2 separate regions of the Homo sapiens genome follow, and region 2 is linked to region 1. The links are contacts of gene promoters, found by promoter capture Hi-C in blood cells and fetal thymus (Javierre and others, 2016). All regions are on one chromosome and are shown on one strand. The core of a region is centred on a gene start or on the middle of the fragment in contact, and the rest is flanking DNA. Distances in the headings are between cores, read along the strand shown.

Region 1 (5,844 bases), core at 1,562-4,061:
CAAAGGATGTCACACAAAATTGTATATGTATTCACCTTTTTCTGGAGATATTGAGACATGGATGGGCAGCAGATAATGGGAAATGAAGGCTTGTAACTCAGGAGAAGAAGATAAATGAATAATCACTTAACAGCTAATCTCTGTTTGGTGTTTTATTAATTATCACGTAAATCTCAACAAAATAAATGCTGTTTTGTAGTTTTGATTTCAGGTCATACTCCAATGCCCCCATATTCTTTAGAAACCACTCTGGTTTCTAAAGGGAAGTGTTAATCAAGTTTAGCCTAAAGCTGCCTCCTTACATATTTAAGTTCAGCCTAAAGGTTTTTCTGTACATCGTGAACAAGTGGAGGAGTAAACCAACCATAGCCCACACCTGTGCCAATCGCTGAGTTTTGGCCAATCAAATGTAGCCAATTGTTTGAACAGTGTTCAAATAAGGCAAACACCAACCTGTAACCAATAACAGCTGTTTCTGCACCTCACTTCTGATTTCTGTACATCATTTCCTTTTTTTTTTTTTGTCTACAAATCCTCCACCACATGGCTGTGCTGGAGTCTCTCCAAATCTGCTGTGATTCTGGGGGCTGCCCGATTTACGAATCAAAAGTTCATTGCTCAATTAAACTCCTTTAAATTTAATTTGGCTAAAGTTTTTCTTTTAATAGAAGCCAGGGCTGAAGATAAAGATTAGGGAATGATTCACAAATCTCTTTATAACTCTGGGGAGGGCAGACAGGAAGAGACTAGAATAACAGAAAAGAGTCAAACTCAAAATCTGAGGGATTGCCTATATTTAATTACGGACAGAGTGAGAGAAACTAGTGGAAAATTCTGAAAGTAAGTGATCAGATCGTATAAAGAGAATTAAAAGAGAGGTGCAGAAAAAAAGTTTTAAAAGCTTCAGCACCTTAAAGCAGGACAAATACTGAGATGAAGTAATTGAATTTGATCAGTAAGAGATAAGAGGATATTTTACACTGTTATCCAGTTTGGTAGACACCGGCCACTTGTGGCTACTTAAGTTTAATTGAAACTAAAATTTAAACATTCAAAATTCATTTCCTTAGTCATACTAGCCACATTTGAAATGCTCATAAGCCACACGTTAACTAGTGTCTATTATGTTGGACAGCTCAAACTATAAAATATTTCCATCATTGCAGAAAGCTCTATGGGGATGTGTTTTTGAAAGCATCCAGTAGTGCAGAAGCAGAATTGCAATGGGGAGATTTCCTGTGTGTCCTCTTATACTCATGTAGCTTGCAATGTCTGGTGGATTTGACCTCTCCAGCTTGCACTTGCCTCCTCATTTTTACTATTAAGTTTTGGTCTCACCCTTTCTTTCCTAGACTATTGCAATGCTTGCCTATCTGCCTCTTCTGTTCTTTCATGTTTGTAACCTATTCTCCACACAAATCATTCCGCCACTCAACAGCACTCTTTTTTCACTGCCACTTTTCCTGGTCAGCCAGCTATTTTATTGTTAGTCCACTGTGGTGCACTGCAGATAGGGGCCATTGTATCAACAACATGGGAAGGTGATTCCTCTTCCCCTACACCTTTCCCTCCCTGCACTCACATAGCTCATAAACCAATGCAGGTAGAAGGATTATGGTACATTTATATAACAAATAACAGAGCAGGAACAACTGCTAATCATCACCCTCTCCTTTGTCTTTTACTTATGATCTGTTACCAGCTCTTTTTTCTTTCCCTCTGCCACTACTGGGCTTGTTAATATTTCGTTACTTTTCACTTCATCAGTCATCTTCTAGTCTCTCCTCCCACTTGCCACAAGAAGCTCTGGTCATATCATTTCATTTCTCTAACCTTCCTCCCTGCAACTCCCACTCTGCAGGCCTACAGAATTCTGTCTTGCTTCCTTCACCATTCTTCCACACATCTTTCTATTACTCTGTGGTACTCACCATTCCCCTGGCACATTCATGCATATTCACTTCCTTCCCTCCCGCCCATGCAATGCCATCTTTCAGACCCCAGGATCCTCTCCCATATCTCTGTGAACCCTGAATATCTGAGACAGGTCTCAGACAATTTAGGAAATTTATTTTGCCAAAGTTAAGGACGCCCGCCCGTGACACAGCCTCAGGAGGTCCTGATGATATGTGTCCAGGGTGGTCGGGGCACAGCTTGGTTTTATACATTTTAGGGAGACATGAGGCATCAATCAATATATGTAAGATGAACATTGGTTCCGTCCAGAAAGGAGGGACAAATTGAAGCAGAGGCGGGCCAACTCAAAGTGAGGAGGGGGCTTCCAGGTCGCACGTATTACAGCTGAGAGACAAATGGTTGCATTCTTTTGAGTTTCTGATGAGCCTTTCCAAAGGAGGCAATCAGATATGCATTTATCTCAGTGAGCAGAGGGATGACTCAGAGGGATGACTTTGAATAGAATGGGAGGCAGGTTTGCCCAAGCAGTTCCTAGCTTGACTTTTCCCTTTAGCTTAGTGATTTTGTGGCACCAAGATTTATTTTCCTTTCTCACCTCTAATAAGATTCAGGAGGAAATATGCACGAAGAATAGAAGGTGCCAGGGGACATTGCTGAAAGACCAAAGGGCCCAAACCTGTTTGACCTTGTCCATTTGGAGAGCAACAGATAAAAATATAGCTGCACTACCAATTATTACTACTCCCCCCAAAAAGACAACTGAATTTTCAGTGTAACAGACAGCACTTTACAAAGACACTTGGTCGAAAAAGGGTCACTCCCGGGCTCTGGGAGGCGAAGAGGACTGTGGGAGCGCTGTTCGTTGTCCCGCGGGCTCATGGGAAATGTAGTGCAGTTTTCTCCAACATGGCCGCGCCCAGGGGAGATGGCGTGCAAGTATCCGCTGCGGTGTTCTGGTGCTAGAGTGGAGAGGCTGGCAAAGAAGAAGGCACACGCATGGTGAGAATCCGGCCTGAGCCGAAGCGGAGGTGTGTGGCACTTCTTACTGGCGGGCATACGGGCAGCAAATCACCGCTTCCTCTTTTCAGCCTCTTCCGGTCTTCTCTATCCGCCTTGCCAGCTAGGGCTGAGAACCTAGGGAAAGGGGATGGATCCCAGAGGCGCCCTTGGTGCAGTGTGGGCAGTAGGGTGTCTGCGTTGGGTGGTTCTCTCAGTGTTTAGGGTGCATGTGTTTGTGTTTGGTTCGGGCGCTCACGTGGTGCCTGTGTCAATCTTCTGTTTTCTTTGGGGTTGGAGAGGACGGTTGCAACATGGGGCGTGTTAGTGTGGCGCTTCTGGGGCTTTTCTGACCGGTGACAATCGGTCTGATTGCATCGATGCAAAGGCAGTGCTGATGATCTGATCCCTTGCGCAGCTGAGTCTTCCTGTGCTCTTATTTGAGCAATCCCTGCGACTCCTGGACCTCTGGTAGCGTCAGCCTGTTATTTTGATAGATTTCATTGAATATTTATTGTCAGTTGTATGTCAGGCACCAAGTCTGTGCCCTTAAATAGATGACAGTTTTCTGGCCGAAGCCCAACACAAACAGGCAATTATAATACCATGTGAGAACTCTAGAGATAGAGGTCCATGCTAGGTGTTAATGAAAACGTTGAAGAAGGCCACCAAACTCAGAATTCTGGAGGAGGGGAGGTTTAGGAGGTAAGACAGCAAAGTCGATTTAGGTTTATTCGACAAATGGTTATTGAGTGGCTGCTAGGTGCTAAATCCTGTTTAAGTGCTGGGTGCTACAGGGTGAACAATAGAGACAAAATCTCTACTTCATGGAGTGAGTGTTCTTTATTCAGTTATGGGGAAAGACAGAATAAACAAATTAATGAGAGTGTAAGAAAATATGTAGTAAGTGTTATTCAAAGAGTTAAAACGGGGTGCCGTGACAAGTGATGGGGTGAATTTTTTTCTAAAAATTTTAAATCTTTATTTTCTTTTTAAATAGATGATGCAGTTTAAATAGCTACTAACTTCAAAAGTCATGAAAGAAGAAAGCTCCCTTTCATTCCTTTACTCATCGATCCATTTTCCTTCCCTGGAGGCAACCCATATCACCAATTTCTTGTGTGTCCTAAAGATTTATATGTAAACTCTGTATACCAGTGCCGTACGTTAAAATTGGGCCTCGTTTGATAGGAAGTTAGATTCTTTCTAATCTTTGCTATTAATTATTAGGTTGTGCAAAAGTAATCATGGTTTTTGCATTTTTTTAAACATATAAGTATAGGAACATTTGTCTATACTGCTTGTTTCATAATAGGCTCTCTATTATTCAAGGAGGGCATGATGTACATACTACTATTACCACGTAGGGCAATATCTAGTAGGATATATTGGCTTTAAACTCACTAACAAGCAAGTAGCAGAGCATGCATAATCTCCAAACTTTCATTATCCCACAGAGAGTACGCTTAGGCTGGAGCTGGCTGAACCGGACTCAGCATGGCTAGTATCATAGTTAATAGTGACTTCACTCCAGTAATGTCACAGGGAGCATCCAAGTATCTGTGCATTAGTGGAAACTCTGGCCAGGGAAGTGGCTTTGTCAGAAGGGGGCACCTCCAGACCTCAGCAGCTGGTATCAGCCTATCCTTGTTGAGATGACTCAGATATGTTGGGCCAGCACATTGCCTAGCCACTGGAATGGTGGAAAACTGAGCCTCAAAGGCCATTTAGTGTCTTTCTTCACGTGCAATAATATTGCATGACTGAGGGAGAGAAAAAGGAAAGGGATGACAAAAATGTGGTTATGAGGCTCCACCTGCTGGTGCTGGACTCTTAGTGGCAGACATTTTAAAAAGATATATTTAGCATCGTTTCTTTCTCATTCCTTCTTTGCAGTGTTTGCTCATGTGAAATATTAAAAATTCTGTAGTGCAGTCATCCCTTGTTCTCCATGACATACTGCAAAGTTGCTGTTCCACAGATGAAGATCTTGAAATGGAATGGCTCTAAAATAGCTCCTTTGAAGGGCCTCAGATATTCTTTGTTTTGTTAAGCCATTTTGATCTGCTGCTTCTGAAAATCAACAGTAATAAATAAATAATAATAAATAAATTTAATTCTAAGAAAGCTATGGGATAGGCACTATTATTTTTATCCCTATTCCTAGATAAAGAAACTGGAACACAGAGCTATATAACCAACTCATCTAGGATTATACAGCTAATAATCAGTGGTTGAGCTGAGATTTGAACCTGGAACATGGACTCCTAAACACTGTATTATATTACCTCATAGCACTGAATGAGGCTCTGTGGTAACTAAGAAAAGTGTGATTTAATCCCGCCTTCAGAAAGCTCACAGTTCAGTGGAAGGGGACAGATACTAAAACAAATAATTATAATTAATGCAATGTTAGACATGTCCATTCACTTATCCCCTTCCTGTCTTAATGACGACTGACTCCTAAACCTTTTTAACCTCAGTTCCTTTCCTAGGAGCCACTTTATTTTGTCACTTGCCAGCCAGACATTGCAACTCTGTATCTCACAATACCTTAAACATTATTCTATCCTAAATATGACTCATTACCTCCTATACTGAGCAGCTCTTCCTGAACCTCCTCCTGACTTTCCAGTTTTGAAGTGGTAGCACTCATCTCTTAGTCACTCAGCCTCTAACTGGTTAACAAGTAATCTTTGATTCCTGTCTCCCTCATATCTGGGTAGTCATCGAGGCCTCTTGATTCCGCCTGAACTTTTCACTCACCCTTCCTCTTTCTCCTCTCCCCCTATTTCGCTTCTTTCTGTTGCCCCCAGCCTAGATCAGGCCAGCATTTCTAATTAACAAGCTGGATTATTATTATTATTTTTTTTACCTCTCATCTCTCTGCTATGCTGCCAGCCAGCCTGCCTGCCTCACTGGCCTTACATC
Region 2 (5,844 bases), core at 1,050-3,549, 1.0 Mb before region 1:
CACATGCTGGGCTAATTTTTTGTATTTTTAGTAGAGGCGGGGTTTCACTGTGTTAGCCAGGATGGTCTCAATCTCCTGACCTCGTGATCTGCCCGCCTCCGCCTCCCAAAGTGCTGGGGCTACAGATGTGAGCCACTGTGCCCGGCCTTAAGTTCAATTTTAACTGTATCATTATCACCCTCAAAACCTGTATTAGCTCCTCAGTGCTTACACAATGAAGTCTAGATTTCATCACATGGCATTCATAGTCAGAGCTCAGCCTACCTTTCAGCTCACTGTGCTCTGAGCACTAGCCCAGTGTTTCTAAACCTCTTTCTCACTACTGTCCCCACAATGCACCTTTTTAGAACTTTTTTCACAATCACCTCCCTTGTGCAATGTTAATACTTCAGATATACTGTGTATCTGTGTATCATGTGTAGATTTGTGCTTTCTACATAAAAAGAGGAAGATTTTACCCCTGTGGAGACTACATGCTCTGCCAAAACAGATCACTTAACAATCCATGAACATGCTCCAGTGTTTTCTAGCTTCCAAGCTTTTGTTCAGTCTGGCCATTAAAGAGGTTGAGGGAATATGAGAAGATTCCTAGACTGTACTTCTGCTATTCAGCACGCTGATCCCCTTGCCTAGAATAGACTCACACATCTCCTCCCACCACCCCCTATTTCTTCCTCTTGAAATCTGACTCTTCATGCAGCAACCTAAATACCGTATCCTCTCTCCATCCACTCAGTTGGCACTAACTTTTCTGTGTGCTCATGGAATTTTCTTTATTCCTCTATTATGTTCTTTTTTACATAGTCATCTTTCTATTTGTGTATCTCTCCCACTGGATTACAAACTTTCTAAAGACAAGGACTGTGTTGTTCACAGTGTGTGATGCCTTCATGTAATAGGCACCAGGATACGTTGGTTGAAATCAGTTCACTGATATACTGGAAACAGTGTAAAATCCCACCAGTGACCATATTGAAAAGTCCCATGTGTATGCTGAATAAATGAACACACTAGAAAAACTGGACACCATATACAAGACATACTCCCAAAACAGGATCATTAATACAGACACTATTTATAAAGGAGTTCTGTATTGTGTACACCATGGGTGAACAAAATTGGTTCCTGGTTCACACAAATAACAGACACCCACAGAAAGTTATCTGAATGGCTAGCTGCCTAGGCATGTTTTAAATAATGATGATCAAATGGGGTAGCCCAGAGAACAAAACACAAGTGGCAATTTTTGATATCATGTTCTTGTACAGATACAAAATTTTAATTGGGTTTATGTGCCATGAAAAGAAATGATATATGTAGAAGTACATTTTATATGTTAGTAATCATCACCACCATCTTCAAAATGACCAAATTAAGGCTATGGGGCAGGAAAGTCAATCTGACAGAGTTATTTTTGGGTAGGAAGTGAAGCCAAGATAAAAACATGTTTTCTGTAAAAGCCTTGATAATTAAAAAAAAAGTATATATGTGAATATCTTTATAAGTTTCTATTATTCTTCATTGCATTGTGGAACAATTGACTTTCTAGGAAAGCTATTTCTGTGGCTTCATAGGATTACCATTTGCTTTCACCAGAGGATTAGGTATTTTTAAATGGCATGTGTATTACTTCTCTGAGTTTATTAAGATGATAATAAAATCTTACAGAAAACTTCTAACAGGTGTTTTCTACAGTCCTTTGCTTCTGGGCTGTCTTCTCCTAAAATACCATAAACGGTTTTGTTTGTTTGTTTGTTTGTTTCTAAAGTCTAAGAATGACTTTTGTGGGACAGTGGAGGTGGGGGTGTCTGTGGGATGAGAGGCTTGGCAAATAATTCGTTTCCAAGGATACACTAATTTCCGCCCTTCAGCCAGGTTCATCCACAGTCAGTAGTGTAATTGAGTTTAGTTCTTCCTGGTCTTTCAGATAAGTAACCCTTTTGCCAGTTACAAACCCTACTTGCAATTCTATTTTCTATGGGCTCTTAATTATTGAAAGGGAGGATTAGTCATGAATCTCCTTTTTCACTCCTTTACTAATCAAGCTCAAGTTCTGCGAGCAAACAGCAACAGCAAAAGCAAATACTTTGGCGCCAACACTTAGCCTTGCCTCACTTAAGAGGCAGAATTATGTAGGCTTGTTTGCTTAACAACTCAGATAGGGGGCGGGGAGGGTGACCGGAGGGGACGAGGGAGGGGACGAGGGACGGGACGAGACGAGGGAGGGGACGAGGGAGGGGACAAGGGAGGGCCCGCCCCCTTGGAACGGGATTGGTTCCCTCTCTCCCTTTAGCCGTTCACTTTGCATCTCGGTTGGACAGGTTGAGAGAAACATGTCATTAAGGTATTGTCAATATGAGCCCTTCAGGTGTGGGCGTTCCCTAGGTTTGTGGTTTTAGACTTTCAAAGGGGCGGACTTATTATTGGCTGTGGGATCAAGTTCGTGAAACTGGTCTTGTACAGGTTGAAAAATGCCTTCCTAACAGGAGGCGCCAAGGAGCTTAAGTGTAACTCACACACAGTAAAGAAAATGACGAAAGTTCCTCCGGCGTTTGATTTCAGTTTCTTAAATGACGAAGAGGCCAGGAAGATCCTTCAGGTGCTGGAAAGGAATGAGGAGTTACAGAGGGCCGAGAAGGACAGGATCAGGTACAGAGCAAATTCATTTCTTTTGTCCTGGGCCTGGGTCCCGCAGGGGCCGGGGATCCGCGGGGAAGGCGCTGAGCTCGCGCGGGGCACCTGCCCGGGGGTGCTCCGAGCGGCTGCTGCGGAGGCTGCGGGTCGGGAAGAGAAAACTGCGCGGAGTTGCTCCCTGAAGGACTTTGGGATGCTTAGTTGGTACCCTCTCCACCCACCACATACCAGACGGGCTCGGCTGCGGGTCTGGGGTCGGGCAGGGTGGGGGGGTCCGTGCGCTGCGGGGGCCGCGCAGTGACGCTGTGCTGTGCCGGGTGTCTGCTGGGCCATCGCGGGGCGTGGGCCGTTTCAGGCAATGAAATGCGGCGGGGGCGCGATCTGGAGAGGAATCCTGGCTGCTGCTCACTCCGCGGCCCGCGCGCACCCACGTGCTCGCACGGGTCCGACAGAGCTTCCACCCTCGCCTAACGCAGTTTTCCCTCGGCACCAGAGGCGAATCTCCCCACCCAATGCGGGCAGTCAGCGAAGCACGGGAGAGCCGGCACCTCACGGGAGGCGAAAGGTCCCCACCCCAAGGGTAGGAGCTCGAGGAATTTGTCAAATAGAGGCTTATGTGGGCGAATGGGACTTGGACACACGGGGTTGGCTGGAATGGGTGGGTCTTCTTGTGCGTGGTGCTGTGGGGAGCGAGTTTCTGAGAAATTTCATCCTTGACCTTACTATACACTGTTGTAGGTGAGGGATTAGTTACTAAAGAATGAAATCCAGAGACACAGATAATTACCCAGGATGTACATTAACCAGTTTTTCTGCTGGGGAAGTGTGGGATAAGTGCTGGAATGAATTAAAGGGACTCTCTCGCCAATATTGGAATATATCCATCTAAGTCCTTCTCTAGATAACTGTGGAAGGGAATTCAGGACATCACTCTCAGACCACACTGTGTGCCATTGATTGGAATTTAGCAAGTCATTTTGTTTTATGATCAACTGCTTGCTAATGCGAGTTCCAGGTTCCCAATTCTTTCTAGAATTGCCTGTCCCCCACCGCCGACAAAAGAAACCCTCCAGGGACCCTCTTCAAATTGGAAAATCTAGTTGGTCTTTGTAGAAAGAATTAGAATACACTAAGCCCAATGCCCTGACTTCACCCTTCTCCCCTAAACATGACTCTTTGAGGGATGAAGGAATATTTGAGGTTGGGGAATATGGATTTCATACCATCTGCCTTGAGAAAAAGTGGCTTTATCATTCCCCTCCCCTGAACAGTGTAGAAAGTGTGCCTTCAGGAGAACAGTATGCCACACCCACACACACCCACGTGCATAATGTACCTACACATATGCACATGCACCGCACAAGGCACACCCAACTTTCAGAAGAAGAATTTCAGAACTGCACGGAATTTCAGTGCATATTCCAAAGGCACTAAGAAACTGCGGTTATTCTCAGTGTGTGTTATTGGAAATGTTTCTTGTCTCTGAAGAGGATGGGGCTTCTTAAGTGATCCATTGTATATTTGGGGAAATTGAGGGGAGAGTTAGAAAATAACAAGGAGAGAAGCTTTCATTTAAGATGTTATCTTGACTTTTTATTTTTGACCTGATGCTTGCTTGCCTTATTGTGTTTTCTCTATTGCAACTCACGATGCCCACTGCAGTTGACTTTAGAGGGAACTGGATCTCCACATAGATCTACACAAAGCACGTGTATCTACACAAAGCCATTGGGCTGGGCATTAGAAGGAAGGTCAAAACACATTTTCTAATTTCATGGCACTCATATTCTAATGGAAGCATCAACAGAAAAAGCCATAATGCTAAGACAAAATCGATACTGTATTATACTAATTATTAAAAGTATTTAATTGCCCAAACAATTTGAAAAATATCACCATTAAAATACAAAAATCATTTAAGGAAAGTAGATGTGTGGACCAAATACCCAAGGCAATGATTTCTAGTACTGTCTTTTCCTTTGATTAATTCCCCACTTCCACTATCAAATACCCATGTCTGGCTTGCAGGCTCCATGGGATTGTTCTGCTTACCCACTTCAGGCTCACATGTATTAATTTCAGTATCAGATATTGGCATGCAGAAAGGGCCTGAGACAACATGGCAACTTGGCTGCCTCTTCTGCTCATTTTCTTGATATGTGTGATCATATTTTCCAAATCAAAAATCAGGACACATGACTTATAACTCAAGAGTATAATTTCATTCTGTTCTGGCTTGGCATATGTGAACAACAACAAAAAAGAGATGCTTCAACAGGCCTGTCTGAGAGACTCAGGGAAGCCTTTTTACTGTATTGAGAAAGAGCTTCAAGACCTCTTGACTAGAACAATAAGGGTCCAAATGGGGAAGTTTAGAAATTTAGCAGGTTGGGGAATGGCTGATGAGTTCATTTATATCTATGATAGGCTTGAGGTATCTGCAAGACAACTAAGAAGAAATACAGGCACCCTATAGTTGGGGCTGGGCCCGGTGGCTCACGCCTGTAATCCCAGTGCTTTGGGAGACTGAGGCAAAAGGATCGCTTGAGGCCAAGAGTTTGAGACCAGCCTGACCAACACAGAGAGACCATGTCTCTACAATAAAAATTAAAAATAAATTTAGCCTGATATTGTGGCACATACTTGCAGTACTAGCTACTCAGGAGGCTCAGGTGGGAGGATCCCTTGAGCTCAAGAGTTCAAGGCTGCAGTGAACTATGATTGTTCCACTCCAACCAGAGTGACACAGTAGAGACCCTGTCTTTAAAAATAAAATAAATAAAATCATTTTTTTTTAAAAAAGAACTACAGTGTCATGCAGGGCCAGAGATGTTCTGAGATAGGTGTGAGGGTAGTTGAGTTCATCATGCAGAAGGCAGCAGCCCCACCCACAGAAAAGTTCCTGAACACATAGAACTTTCTCCTGATCTCCCCTCATCTGTACCAGACCTCTCTGGCTCCAACTTACCAGGAAAGTATTTGCATTAAATATAATAGTTAATGTTTCTAATATATAGTTTATTCAGATTTTTAAGAAAAACACCAAGATTCAAACTGATAAATAGGCAAAAGATAGAAATAAATCATTCACACCAGAAGATATCCAAACAGTAAACATAACAGATGGGAAAATGTCTACCCTCACAGTAATAAATGAAAATTGAAGTAACCTTGAGATACCATGCTGCCCCTTTAAAAATGACAGAAAAA

What was found. Contacts are between HindIII fragments. The CHiCAGO score rates a contact against its expected background, and 5 or more counts as called.
Region 2: a contact is called between the fragment with the promoter of EXPH5 here and the fragment with the promoter of ALKBH8 in region 1, in 2 of 17 cell types (monocytes and non-activated CD4 T cells). The highest score is 6.8, in monocytes.

What each region holds. Positions count from the first base shown.
Region 1 is chr11:107,562,702-107,568,545 of GRCh38, reverse strand. It overlaps ALKBH8 (alkB homolog 8, tRNA methyltransferase), which reads left to right and starts at 2,811. Exons shown (of 12, transcript NM_138775.3): 1 at 2,811-2,945. RefSeq lists enhancers at 511-590, 2,519-2,578, 2,425-2,941, 2,649-3,138, 2,942-3,460. The HindIII fragment of the contact is 7,705 bases long and covers 904-5,844 here.
Region 2 is chr11:108,590,223-108,596,066 of GRCh38, reverse strand. It overlaps EXPH5 (exophilin 5), which reads left to right and starts at 2,299. Exons shown (of 6, transcript NM_015065.3): 1 at 2,299-2,649. The coding sequence starts at 2,531. RefSeq lists silencers at 2,113-2,412, 2,433-2,482, 2,763-2,822. The HindIII fragment of the contact is 3,661 bases long and covers 541-4,201 here.